5 separate regions of the Homo sapiens genome follow, and all the other regions are linked to region 3. Evidence: promoter capture Hi-C in 16 types of primary human blood cells and fetal thymus (Javierre and others, 2016). All regions are on one chromosome and are shown on one strand. Each heading gives the region's core, a stretch centred on a gene start or on the middle of the fragment in contact. The rest is flanking DNA. Distances are from core to core; before and after follow the strand shown.

Region 1 (2,700 bases), core at 199-2,698, 530 kb before region 3:
TACATGTATACATAAATATATACACACATATAAACATATACACACAAATTTATTGGATGCTCTGCAAAAATAGCCACTACTCTAATGGGCATAGCCCATATCTTATTCCTCTCAGTATCCTTAATACCTAGCACCTAGCAGGGAATCAATAATATAAATATAAATATCTGAATAAAAGCAAATTGACAAACTAATAACGTAGGCTTCTTTTCAAACATCACTTCATGCAGCAGAAATGTGTTATGTGCTGCCATATGAAACAATGGGCTGAAACTGGTTTATGAGAAATGTGTATGTGAAATTGCTTTGTAAAATTTTGTACAATTATTATGTAGTCTTATGGTTTCATGAAATATAAATGTTGAAGATGTTGTAATTATACAATACAAATCTTGTTTAACAGACCTTGATTAATAATAACTAATTGATACTTTGTTATTAGCTGATGGATAAGTTCTTGATTTAAATATCAATTAGAGGATAATTCATTAATTTAATCATTTTTCCTCAGTGCCTCAAACAGCATTGAAGGTTTACCCATGACATAAGAACAATCTGATAAATATTCCAATACTAAGCTACAGTCATTCATTTGAATACGTAGGTGCATTATTATAATAGGAGATATATTATGATATTGATTTTGATATTTAATATTTAGCTATTATTTTAGGGTATGAATTTTATAGACCATTTTAATAGCCAAACTAAGGTTTGAAGATAGTCACAAATTCTAACGTGAACACAATATTGATTCCTTACTTCAAAGACAGCTAACAGTTCACAAGAGAATAGTTGGGCTGAGGCCGTCACATTTTATGCATTTAGGCATCAACATGAGAATCATAGAAAACAGTAGATACTTTAGTTTTTCTCTCTAAAGAAGCATGAACATTGATTTATTTTGATGCTATCTTGGTACAGCAAATAGAATCATTTTAATAGAAAAACAACCCTTTGTTTATTTTGTGTGTTGAACCTGTGTGTTAACTCTATGCGTTTTGGGAGTTTATACTATATAAGACCATTTCTGTGGTCTAAAAGCAAGGTAGAACTCCTTTTTCTTTTCCACTAGAGAGAATTTACAAGAGAATTGCATGGCAACAAGTCACCAAGAGTTAATAGTTATTGAGTCATCAGTGAGTATATGCTACAAAACTGGGTCCTTCAAGAACTATATCTTTAAAATGTCCATGTTTAGAGAACATACAAAACATACTGTCAGAATGAACAGCAATTTTAAATGTAAAAGAATTGTTCTATTAGATTGTGTACATATAGAGTTTATATTAAATTAGAATCAATACAGAGACTGGTACATGTGTTCTTTTTTAGGAGCTTATGAAATGGAAACACCTTAACATTCACATCCTCAAGGATTATGTGACACTGTATTAATGCATGTGGAAATGTAACTTTTAAGTATTTTGTTATGAAATAAATAGAGCAAAGTTGTTTGCAAAAAGAAATGCACAATGACAACTTCATTTATTCATTCACAAATATTTATTGAGCACCTACGTGTGAGATAAAACTCTGGGTGGTGAGGGTTTACACAGCAGCAAATAAAATAGGCCTTGTCTCTGCATCCATGGAGCTTCACTTCTAATGGCAGAGTAAAACAATAAACAAATATTCAAATAAATGCACACTCAATGTTATGCAGAAAGTTAACAGAGGGTGTGAGGTTACAGAGTGAGGGGGAAAGCGCTATTTGAAATGGAGTAGTCAGGAACAGCCTCTGATTAGGTGATACTTGAGCCAAGACATGAAAGCCACATGACTATCTAGGGTAGAGTATTCTACACAGAGAGAAGAGCAAGTACAAAAGCCATGCAGCAGGAATGAACTTGGCATGTAAGGATCATCACGGGGCACAGTATTGCTAGAGCAGGGTAAGCAAGGCAAGGAGTTCAGGAGCCGCTTTTTATTTTTATCCTTTTATGTTGTTGTTGTTCGTTTGTTTTTGTTTTATTTTGTTTTTTTTTTGGAGACAAGATCTCACTGTGTTGCTCAGACTGGAGTGCAATGGCATGATCATGGCTCACTGAAGCCTCAACTTCCCAGGCTGAAGCAATCTTCCCCCCTCAGCCTCCCAGGTAGTTGGGAACACAGGTGCATGCCACCACACCTGGCTATTTTATTTTATTTTATCTTATTTTATTTTTATTTTTAGAGACAGGATCTCCCTGTGTTGCCCAGGTCTCAAACTCCTGGGCTGAAACAGTCCTCCTGCCTTGGCCTCCCAGAATGCTGGGATTACAGGCATGAGGCACCATGCCTGGCCAGGAGCTGCTTTTTAGATGAAGGATTTTTTTTTCTTTTTTTTTTTTGAGATGGAGTCTCGCTCTGTCACCCAGCCTGGAGTGCAGTGGCACGATCTTGGCTCACTACAAGCTCCACCTCCCGGGTTCACGCCATTCTCCTGCCCCAGCTAGATGAAGGATTTTAAGTTGGTTGCTTATCATATCCACATGCAGTCATGCCCCCAAAAGGATGCTCCCAAAAGGAATGGATTACAGGAATACAAGACTACAATTTTAATTACTACCGTACTTTACTTACTAGGCATTCCTTCACATTTACAAGGATCTTTTCTAGCTGCGAAGAGAGTCCTCATCCCAAACCTACGGTTAGCTTAGGTTGCATTAAGTTCTCAAAGTAATTTGCTAATTAATAGTAGCAAAAATCTTGTGTATC
Region 2 (2,700 bases), core at 79-2,578, 950 kb after region 3:
TTGGCAAATTCATTCTTCATGTCTCTTCCTTTTTTAAAAATTACTCCTAAAAACCTGCAAAAAATAAAACCTACATTTATTAAAATTGTGTGGTTTTTAAAGGTAGAATTCCCAATTGAGAAAATGGTAATACAGAAAAGGTGAAAGGAATGATCAACACACATTACTTCAATTAGCCAACTATTTCTTTTGTGTATATATACACTGTGATAAGCTTTACCAGATGGTATACTCAAATTTACAGAAACTAATTTTTAAAGTATGTTTCCCAAGTCACAATATATAAATCTGATACACTGTTGCATGGTAACAAAATCCCAATTCTGAAGGCTAGCTAGTGCAGAAATATTTAGGAAAAAGAAGAGAATGCCAGCCAAAGCGTGGGGAGAGTGTCACTCCTATAGTTCTAAAAGGTATGATATATACTTATCTTCTGCCATTACCTGGTACATAGTATAGGTGCTCAATAAATAATCTGGGTGAATGCGTGACTGAATGAATAAATGAGTAGGAGAAACTTAATGTTTCTTCAAATGAACTAAATCAAACAAGAAAGCATTTGTGATCCCATGGGAGATACACTTATAAACTAAGGAAGTCCTTAATAAGGCTGACCAAGGTTCCAAGCCATAGCTCAGAGGCTAGAAGAAGTAGATATCCCAAGATTCCCCTCACCTCCTAATTAATTTCAACAATCCTCTTCATATGCTTTGAAAATTTTACCTTGGTGAATTCCTACAGAGCAAAAGCATCCTTTGTAAGTACAGCATGCTTTCAGGAATTAGCCATAGTCAGAAAATTGTGTGTGTGTGTGTGTGTGTTTGTGTACATACTCAGATATATATGAGCTAACTGAGAAACAAAATTAATTTTCTGCTATGTGCTAAAATATCCATTTGCTACTAAAGGGTTTTTTCTATTCATGTCATATTCAGGGCAGAACAGCAATTGGTGCATACTTACTACCCAATTAGTTCAGGAGAGCTGAACTACACTCTTGCATAGTTTTACAACCAAGCCTTGTTTTTAAACTTTAGCTTGCCATTTGATAGTAACATAGCTGTAAAGATGAATTCAGAAGTCATCTTGCAAAAGCATTTTAAGTAAAAAGCTGTGCAAAAGCACAGAGCAATAAATCTAGCACCCAGGAAAAATTCAGTGGTATAATTTTAAACTATACCTTGACATAAAAGAAAATGAAGACATATGAAAAGTAATTCATGATGGCTTCCATATGATAGATGCATTATTCTATTTTTAGAGATTACCTCTGTTACTATAACTTTTATAACCTTTTTGAAGAGCTAATTTCCTAAGAAATATATTTTTTAAATAATGATATTAAACATGCAAAATAAATTATTAAAACCTAACTTATTTTCTTCCTGGTAAACTCTTGTTTAAAAAAATTTTGGCAATATTGTTAATAAAGAATATTATTAACTATATATATAATATATAATATATAAACTGATGCAGTTTAAAGCATAGATTATTAAAACAGTGAAATCCAAAGGTTACTGCTCAACTATACTGTTACTGGTTCACTTTAAAATCTATGTTAGGGCAGGGCACGGTGGCGCACACCTGTAACCCCAGCACTTTGAGAGGCCGAGGCAGGTGGATTACCTGAGGTCAGGAGTTTAAGACCAGCCTGGCCAACATGGTGAAACCTCATCTCTACTAAAAAATACAAAAATTAGCCGGGCGTGGTGCCATGTGCCTGTAATCCCAGATACTTGGGAGGTGGAGGCAGGAAAATCACTTGAACCTAGGAGATGGAGGCTGCAGTGAGCCGATATTGCACCACTGCACTCCAGCCTGGGCGAGAGAACAAGATCCTGTCTCCAAAAAAATAAAAAATAAATAAAATCTATGTTAAAAATAAATCTAAATATGAAAATCAAAATCCAAAGTTATAAGCAAATAACTGTTATAACAATTTCCACAATTAGTATTAAGCTATGTTCCCATATTAAATGGCAGCAATTTTTAATGTATAATCAATACAAGATTAAAATACATCTTTTTTAAAATGTTATTTTAAGTTCTGGGATACATGTGCAGGATGTGCAGGTTTGTTACATAGGTAAACGCGTGCCATGGCAGTTTGCTGCACCTATCAACCCATCACCTAGGTATTAAGCCCAGCATGCATTAGCTATTTTTCCTGATATTCTCCCCACCCCTAGAATATATCTTCATTCGAATTTAGATTATATCATTAGTAATAAAATTTTCACAAACAAGTTAGTAGTACTTATTTATTAACAAATACATTTTGGAGAGTTCCAACAGTTTAAGGTGTCCTTCTCTTTTAAACAACTTACAAACTATATAATTATCTTTGCACTGAGGCTATAAATTTCCATTTATATAACATATTTTTCAGATAGGGAAAGTTAATATTGAATAATCAATGAGCAAGGAGAAGCAAGCTTTAAGAACTTCCCAACTCTTAGGAATCATGAAAATAATTTTTCATGATTATTTTAGTGTCCCTGAAATTATCAAATGCATCATTTCCATTAAAACATATATGAGTATAAAGGGAAAATATGAAGTTTATTCAAAAGGAGCAAAAAAGGGAGATCAAATGTATGAAAAGTTCTTTATATCCTAAAAATGAACAACAGAAAGAACAAGTTGTAATTGGTAATACAAATCAAAAGATCACTTTCCCTACCAGTTTTGAGACTG
Region 3 (2,700 bases), core at 109-2,608:
CTATCAGAATATAAGTTTTCTCTAAAATGCAATGTGCACTTATATTTTTGGGTGAGGTAGCTAACTTCTCATTTGAAAGATGAGGTACAGTATATGGTTAACTTGTAAAACAGAAATTCACTTGCTTTATAAGAACGAAATCTCATTTAAATAAACCAGGTTTCTTAGGCATGCTTCCTTTTTTTATATCAAATGTTCTAGGTTTTTTTCAGCCTCTTTAACCTTGCTATATTCTGAATTCAGTAATTTCCATACTATGCATGGTTTCATAAAGGACACAAATTTAAAGAAAAAAGGTACCCATAGATTGCCTCAGAACCCCTTTTTCTGGCAACCAGCAGGAGTTTACCAGGCCATCATTAAAGACATGTTTTTTGGGTATATGTCGTAAATCTCTAGAAACATTGCTTACAAATAGTACTGTGTAGCTATACTTTTGAAACTATAATGTAAAAAGGGTACCATTTGTTGAACTCTTACAGCATCAATTAGGTTGTATTATGTTCACTTTAGGGACAAGGAAATTCAGGCCCTTATGACATTAATTACTCACCCATATCGTTCACAAGTGTTGGAAGCAAGAGTACAACACAGACCTATATGGTTCCAAAGCCTATGCCAGTAGAAATAGTTGTACAGTAAGTGTTATTCGTGAGCTAAGACAATCGTCCTAGGCTTAGCATTGTGTCTGATACGTAAGTGATCAGACAGGTAAACATTGATAGAACTGAAATCCTTTGATCATTTTACCCTTTAAATTCTTCTCTGGGGTAGGAAAAGCTTGTTTTCTGTTTTTGGTAACCGCTTTGAGTATAACTGACATGCAATAAGTTGCACATATTTAAAGTGTGCAGTTTGATACGGTTTTACATATGTGTACATCTGTGAGGCCATCACCCGAGATGAGAAAATGCACAGGCTGCAAATAAAAATGATCTCAATACGGCCTCTGGAAGAACACCTGATCTAGGCTGACTTGATCTAAGGAAATACATGAGTATCATGTAAACGCTGAGGTCAGATCTAAAGGTCGGCTCGGAGCTCCCTATCTGACAAGTAGGGTCCCCTGGCCAGGTTCACTCCATAGGTTAGTCTCGGGGCTACCCTGCCCACGTCCGGAAAGCGGACCTACCTGGGGCCTAACCTTGACCGGACACCCGTCAGCATTCTCCAAATCCGACTTCTACACCTGTATGGGACGGACCAAGTTTCTAGGTCCGCGATCACACCAATGGCGGAAGCTCGTCAGCGCCCGGGTTCCAAAATCCCGCCTCTCAAGGCTTCTTGAGACATTTTGTCTCCCGGCGTGCAATGCGTCCGCCCCGGGTGGCCTCCGCCCGGAAGACGGAAGTGCAAAGACTTCCGGTCGGCGTGAGCGTGAGGTGTGGGTGTTCGTTTCTCAGGTGAGTTCGGTTCCTCACCGGTCCAGTGACACATGGGACTTGGGGCTTGATTCCGCCACCCTTGGAGAATTTCGTTTCTTGACACTCGCTGGGCTATACTTGAGCTCCAGTCCGGAGATGCAGGCCTTGTTGAGGGCGAGGGTTCCCCTTGCTCTTTTTGGTGGGGGCCCTCCGGCTTCCGAGTGCACTGGATAAAGTGGAGCCCACCCCTGTCGTTCACTCCCGCTGAAGTTAACTTCGGCCCTCAAGGTTGTTTGCCGCCCGCTTTCCTAGCCCCTCGCAAGGGTTGAGTTATGTAGACAAGGGAGCGGAATGACTGTGATTGCCGGCGTTCAAAAAATGTTAGTGGTTCGTTCAACAAGTATGCAAAAAGTGTGCGATTCAGCAGTGAACAAGACCTTTCCCTCTACCTTCGTGGAGTCTACAGTCTGGGGAGAGGGTCGGGGGGCGTGACAGAAAACAATGGTTTCAGGTTGTAACACTTAATAAGCAGGGAAGGGAGCTTACGGAGGTCAGAGGAGTCCTTTCTGAGGTAGCGAATGAAGGAGCAAGCCTTGAGAAGAGCAGTTGCCAGGCATAGGGACAGCAAATATGAAGGCACTGACGTAGAGATAGTTTGGACTCTTTACAGACGTAGTTGGTGCCTGCGGGGATGGGGATGGAGAATGAAATGAAATAGAGTTGAAGGAGGCAGGGGACAGATCACAAATGACCTTGTAGATCTTGAATATATATGAGGGAGGAGGTCTTTAAAGAACTCGAAGAAAGGCAGTGAATGCTTTTTTAAAAGATCACACTGAGCACCTTGTGGAGGATTTAGGGCGGAACTGAGTGGAAAGAAAACAAGAGTAGGAATAGATAAGTTTACAGTCGTTAAGTTGGCTTGAGAGGATGGATAATGAAGATGAGGTGAAGTGTTTATAAAAATCATTTGTAATTTGTAAGCTGTTGCATAAATGTAAGGTGATGACGCTGTTGCATTCTGGGGAAATTAAATTTCTGTATTTTGTAAAGAAATTCAGCCGGGCGCGGTGGCTCAAGCCTGTAATCCCAGCACTTTGGGAGGCCGAGGCGGGCGGATCACAATGTCAGGAGATCGAGACTATCCTGGCTAACACGGTGAAAACCCGTCTCTACTAAAAATACAAAAAATTAGCCAGGCGTGGTGGCGGGCGCCTGTAGTCCCAGCTGCTCGGGAGGCTGAGGCAGGAGAATGGCGTGAACCTGAGAGGTGGAGGTTGCAGTGAGCTGAGATCGCGCCACTGCACTCCAGCCTGGGACACAGAACAAGACTCTG
Region 4 (2,700 bases), core at 20-2,519, 830 kb after region 3:
ACAGTACAAAGAAGAACTAAACCTTCAGCATTTTAAACCATTGGGATTTGGGGGCTATTTGTTCCAATTGAAACTGAAGCTTAGAGAATTACCTGCTTGAGGTTAAATGGCCAGTAAATTATGGAGCCAGAATTTGAACTAAACTTTATTTTAATCTCTTCTACTACATTCCAAACTCCTCAAGGGCAGGGGCCCTTGTGCCCCCAGATTGATGTCCTTGTTTTAGAAAACAACAGAGTCTGGAAGGATGAGAAGTCTAATGCCAAGGACAGTGAGACCACTTCCAAAAGTCTATAGTTTCTCTCTCATTAGTCATCCCTTCTATCCTAAATATCCCAAAGAGATTCTTAATTTAGTCAGAAGATACGGCTGCCCTCTCATATTCCCACATTAAAGGCCAGGAGACAGCTACTTGACTTTGATCACTCAGAGCTCATAAACTTGTCTCAACACCAAAAACTAAAGATTTTCCTCAGCTGCAAAAGTGACTGAGTAGCTTCTGGTCACAATAAAATGACGATGTGAAGATCTTATTTCCTGAAGCAATTGAAAGTTTATTGGACACTAAGCACATTCACTGTAGAAAGCTAGTGATCTAGCAAGTCAATGCCTAAATCCAGACCTTACAGATACAACTTTTGATTTTAAATCAATCAACAAATACAAGGAAAATCAATCCATTTGCCATGATGATAGAAAAATGTCTGTTTCTTTCAACAGCTGAGATCATGACCCTGGAACTAATGAGAAGGAACCACATTAATAGCTCACATTGTGACCTGGAAGTAATCGATGTGCACATAGTCATAACAATATAAGCTTTTAGAGACAACCTATGGACAAATATTTGACTGTGATTTCAGAACAGACTGTAAGCATTAGCAAGTTCACATTGTGAAACAAAAACTATATAGCAACAAAATGTAAAGAAGGCTGGAAAGAAAGGTGGAGGAAAGACTCAGGGTATCAGTGTCCTCCTCTTATAAAGTAGAGGGTTAGAAGACACCAACTAGACTGGAAAACGCTAACTGACCCCTAGAATCCATACTCCCTTCTTCTTATTAGTAATAGAACCCCCTGAAATTTTAACTGAACATACAGCCTCATTTCTCACCTTCCCTTGCAGCTAGATGTGAACATGATACTAAGTTGTGGAAAATGGAATGTAACTCAATGTCATGTATGATCTTTCAGCTCATCTCCTTTAAAGACAAAGTCACTTGCTTTGGATTTCCTCTTCCCTCCTGAGAAATGGCAGCAACTGCATCAGCACACTTGAACCCTGAGAAGTAAGGCACTTGATGAGGAAGACAAACCTAACAGGTCATGAGGCAGAGCTATTCACCAGCCCAACCTTGGACTAGTATATGAAAGGGAAACTTCTACTTTCTGTAAGTTGCTCCACTTGTAATCTCTTTGTCAGAGCAGCTTAGCCTGTTGTCTATTAAAGTCTAACAATGGTAAACAGAAAGGTGAAGAGACAGCAGATAAATACTTATATTCTGTAACTGGTTATTATCTGAAACTGATGCATCAATAAATAGCACTATAACTATATTAACCAAAATTATGAAAGTAACTACTAGAATAATGATTTTAAAACATGACTTCAGAGGAGTGAGACAGAAATAGAAAGAGGTGGAGTTGCAGGTAGTTTTTTTCACCTTAGTTCCCCTGTACCAAGAGCCATGTGCAGGTTTTTTATAAAAGTAAAGCTTATACATAAAAAAAGATCCAGTGCCTCAATGGGCCATTTTATCTAAAGAAAAAACCTGGTAATGCAAGCTGACTAAATCCTATGCCTGGGACTATAAACTACAGTATCTATATCACTAAAAGACTATTTTTAGTGAGCTAAATATAAGCCTTAAAAATACATATCCTTAAATCATATTTCATATATTTTAAGTCAGAACTTTGCCACCCATTCATGGAATAAAAAGTTTTAGCACTGGAAATTACAAGTAAATATCTGCTCTTGTATCTGAATTTTTGTATCCCTCCCCATAGAAAATAGAAAATTATTAAATAAAATTATAATGATGGCTTGCATCTGATATAGCAGATAAAAGAGAAGTTTTATGAAAATGGACTCCTTATATTCCACTAAAAGGTATATTTAATGACCTCTATCAACTATCCTTTGACATCATGTTGGGCTTAGGAGAGAGGAAAAGTCCTGAATGAGATCATAAAGTAGAAGAAATAAAATATTTTGCAAAATTTCTACTTTGTCCTATACTGTTTTTCTTCGTGAATTTTAGGTGATTAAAAGATGTTTTTCAAAGAATCTGAGCATTCCATATCTACTTCAAACTGCTTATTATATCCCAAACTCAATTCATTTATTACTTTCTTTCTTCACTAATTATTCTGTCTGTATTTCTTTGTTAGAAAGTAGTCCCATCAGCAGGGTGTGGTGGCTCACGCCCATATTCCCAGCACTCTGGTAGGCCAAGGCAGGAGGATCGCTTGAGCTCAGGAGTTTGAGACCACTCTGGGCAACATGGTGAAACCCTGTTTCTACCAAAAATACAAAAATTAGCCAGTCGTGGTGGCATGCACCTGTGGTTCCAGCTACTCGGAACGCTGAGGCGGGAGGATTGCTTGAACCCAGGAGATCAAGGCTGCAGTGAGCCAAGATCAGGCCACTGCACTTCAGCCTGGGTGACAAAGTGAGGCCCTGACTCAAAAGAAAAA
Region 5 (2,700 bases), core at 137-2,636, 850 kb after region 3:
CAGGTGATCTGCCTGCCTCGGCCTCCTAAAGTGCTGGGATTACAGGCGTGAGCCACCACACCCAGCCTGTGCTGAGCATTTTAAAAGGAAAACCCATCATGGGCAGGAAAGAGAAAATACAGAATATTCAAAGTAAATCCTTGAGATACAGCAAGAAGAAATGCTAACTAACAACTGGCAAATTAAATAGCTGATTACCCTTCCATCCAAATCCAGTTTAATTCTGCTAAATCAGATAGGTAGATCCAATTCAATCTTCTCTGAGGTAAGATCAAAAGGTGATAACCCATTATAGGCTATTTCATCTGGAATGCTCACAGATAACTAGCCTTCCCAACCACAGAAATGTTTGGATGCTCTCTGGCGGTATCCCTAACCCAGACCTAAATAACAAAACTGAATATCAAACTGTCTTAAGGCCTGGGCTTAACTATCCCCAAAAACCAGTTAGGCATTTACCCTATGACATAATCAGCACTTTCTGCTATTAGATGAGGAAGAAAAAGTGATAGAAGCTTAACACGGAATCTGTCCAGGTATGTATGTATCTTTGTGCATGTTCCAGGTATTAACACAATCCTGAGACAGATCCGGACTCTCCAACACTGGACCACACCCATCACATCTGGCTAAGGTAGGCCAGTTTGACATGTATAGCAAGTCACAGGCTGACAATCAGAAGTTTGAACCACATGTAGTAGGTGGCTCTGAAGAGTTACATAAACAAAAACAACATTATAGGATCTTGGAGTTAGAAGAGACATGGAAACTGTCCAACTTAATAATTTTACCGAGAAGCTAAACATGGGAATCAAATTCATCAACCAAATCCATAACTATGATAAATTAATTATACAGGTGCAGATAAATTAGAGGGATTGTGACCAGATTATGACAGAACCAAAAATGCAGTGGTGTGATCACGGCTTACCACAGCCTCGATCTCCCTGGCCCAAGCAATCCTCCCACTTTGGCTTCCCAAGTAGCTGAGACCACAGGAGTGAGCCACTATGCCCAGCTAATTTTTTTTTAATTTTTGTAGAGACAGGGTATCCCTATGTTGACCAGGCCGGTCTCGAACTCCTGGGTTCAAGCAATCCTCCCACACTGGCCTCCCAAAGTGTTGCATTACAGGCATGAGCCACCACACGTGGCCTTAAAATCTATTTTTAATTATTAAATGGCATATGTATTAGAAAAACTGATGAACCTTACTGTTGGGATAGTCTTTGGATATTCTTTTGAGTTGAGCAAAATAGCAAGGATTTCTGACTTAATGGATTAACATCTTAGTTAAAATATTAGAACAAGCACTTTTAAAAACAAAAAGCAGTGTGTTGATTCAAAATCTAAATTACATTGTATGCTGCAACCTTGCCATACAAGCAGTTTAAGCACTGTGACAAAATTCTAGATAAGTAGCAAAGAGCTACTTATCTTAATATAAAAATTTCCAGATATTCATATAGGGCCCTAATAAAAGTCATCAGAAATTAGACTGATATATCAGCTGGGACCGGAATTAAAAGAATATATGTTTAAATGGTCCAAATATAAACTTGATGTTCAAAATTACTGGCAAGGGGCCAGTACAGTGGATTCTGGTCTTCGAAGGCCGTTTCACCACAAGTATTAGGTAAGTCAACACATCACTGAGGAAAAAGAAAGCATACATATGTTTCCTGGCAATAAAATCCACTCTTCACTATCCAGCACAGTATTTTTTAGAAATCCATTGAAAAATGTGAAATTAGAACCTGTTGTATTTCCCAAGAAGTGCTATTAAAGTTACTTCCAAAATATGAATCTATAAAAAACAGGGTTTTTTTGAAAAACAATACTATGCAGAAAGAAACATGAAACTGATATCACTGCTCAAGTTACTATTTACAAATTGCAAATTGAATAAAGTTAAATATTGTAAATATCTGCCATTAATCTGAACTGACAATTTTATAAGTTATATGAACCCTGAAGTTTTTTTATAGACAAAATTGTTTTTGAAAATCGATCTTGCCACCAGCGCTGCAAATGAAAATATGAAGAGATAAACCAGAGAGTACTGAATATAATCTATGCTTCATAGAGTCATGTTTCAACTAATTTATGAGTCCTAGTTTGCCATATCTTATTTGACAATTTAGTCTATTGGTAGAAAAAACAAAAGCAAACTAAAATCTCCTAAGAAATCTCAGCTCTAAGGAATTATAATTTATATTCTTCCATTCCCGATAAAATTAAGAAGCAAGAAGCTTTGACGACTACTCATCACAAACGTAAAAGTCCATGCAATTTCACATTTACCTTTATCCCTACCTTTGTACTTTAAAATAACTGCTTTTTAAAATAATAATCTGATATTAAATTCCCCCCAACAGTTCCCACATGATTCAAGAAGATTATCTTATAAAGTCTTACTGTAACGACTTCATAACTGCCACTTCCGATAGCTATTAGCCCTAAACCAAATAAGGCAGGAACAGCACTTTTCATTCATATAGTTTGACTCGAAATAGCCCAGTGTAAAACTTCAAAAATAGACTTGGATGCCTTTTTCTGCTTAAAAACAAAGCAAAACTGATACCTGGCAAACTCGGGGTTCTGTTCGATTTTGGCCTGTGAAATGCCAGGCGGGCCCGCTGGAGTCTGGCCCAGCAGCGGGGCAGCAGCGCAGGGAGGGCGGGCGGCGGGTGCGCTCCC

What was found. Contacts are between HindIII fragments. The CHiCAGO score rates a contact against its expected background, and 5 or more counts as called.
Region 1: a contact is called between a fragment that was not itself captured here and the fragment with the promoter of LLPH in region 3, in 2 of 17 cell types (total B cells and naive B cells). The highest score is 5.6, in total B cells.
Region 2: a fragment that was not itself captured here is called in contact with the fragment with the promoter of LLPH in region 3 in 5 of 17 cell types (total CD8 T cells, total B cells, total CD4 T cells and 2 more); the score reaches 7.4 in total CD8 T cells.
Region 4: a contact is called between a fragment that was not itself captured here and the fragment with the promoter of LLPH in region 3, in 4 of 17 cell types (megakaryocytes, M2 macrophages, endothelial precursors and 1 more). The highest score is 7.2, in megakaryocytes.
Region 5: a contact is called between a fragment that was not itself captured here and the fragment with the promoter of LLPH in region 3, in 3 of 17 cell types (megakaryocytes, erythroblasts and endothelial precursors). The highest score is 9.8, in megakaryocytes.

Annotation. Positions count from the first base shown.
Region 1 is chr12:66,658,214-66,660,913 of GRCh38, reverse strand. The region is part of intron 1 of GRIP1 (glutamate receptor interacting protein 1); the gene reads left to right. Among named protein-coding and RNA genes, the nearest start is that of GRIP1, 20 kb to the left of the region's middle. RefSeq lists an enhancer at 1,488-1,989. The HindIII fragment of the contact is 3,950 bases long and covers 1-2,700 here.
Region 2 is chr12:65,179,111-65,181,810 of GRCh38, reverse strand. The region is part of intron 1 of LEMD3 (LEM domain containing 3); the gene reads right to left. Among named protein-coding and RNA genes, the nearest start is that of LEMD3, 11 kb to the right of the region's middle. The HindIII fragment of the contact is 2,224 bases long and covers 217-2,440 here.
Region 3 is chr12:66,129,408-66,132,107 of GRCh38, reverse strand. It overlaps LLPH (LLP homolog, long-term synaptic facilitation factor), which reads left to right and starts at 1,358. Exons shown (of 3, transcript NM_032338.4): 1 at 1,358-1,403. It overlaps LLPH-DT (LLPH divergent transcript), which reads right to left and starts at 1,357. Exons shown (of 2, transcript NR_125724.1): 1 at 1,133-1,357. RefSeq lists enhancers at 1,335-1,444, 1,485-1,634. The HindIII fragment of the contact is 2,232 bases long and covers 783-2,700 here.
Region 4 is chr12:65,298,012-65,300,711 of GRCh38, reverse strand. All of the region lies in intron 1 of MSRB3 (methionine sulfoxide reductase B3), which reads right to left. Among named protein-coding and RNA genes, the nearest start is that of MSRB3, 21 kb to the right of the region's middle. The HindIII fragment of the contact is 896 bases long and covers 822-1,717 here.
Region 5 is chr12:65,279,402-65,282,101 of GRCh38, reverse strand. All of the region lies in intron 1 of MSRB3 (methionine sulfoxide reductase B3), which reads right to left. Among named protein-coding and RNA genes, the nearest start is that of MSRB3, 2.1 kb to the right of the region's middle. RefSeq lists a silencer at 2,670-2,700. The HindIII fragment of the contact is 1,737 bases long and covers 518-2,254 here.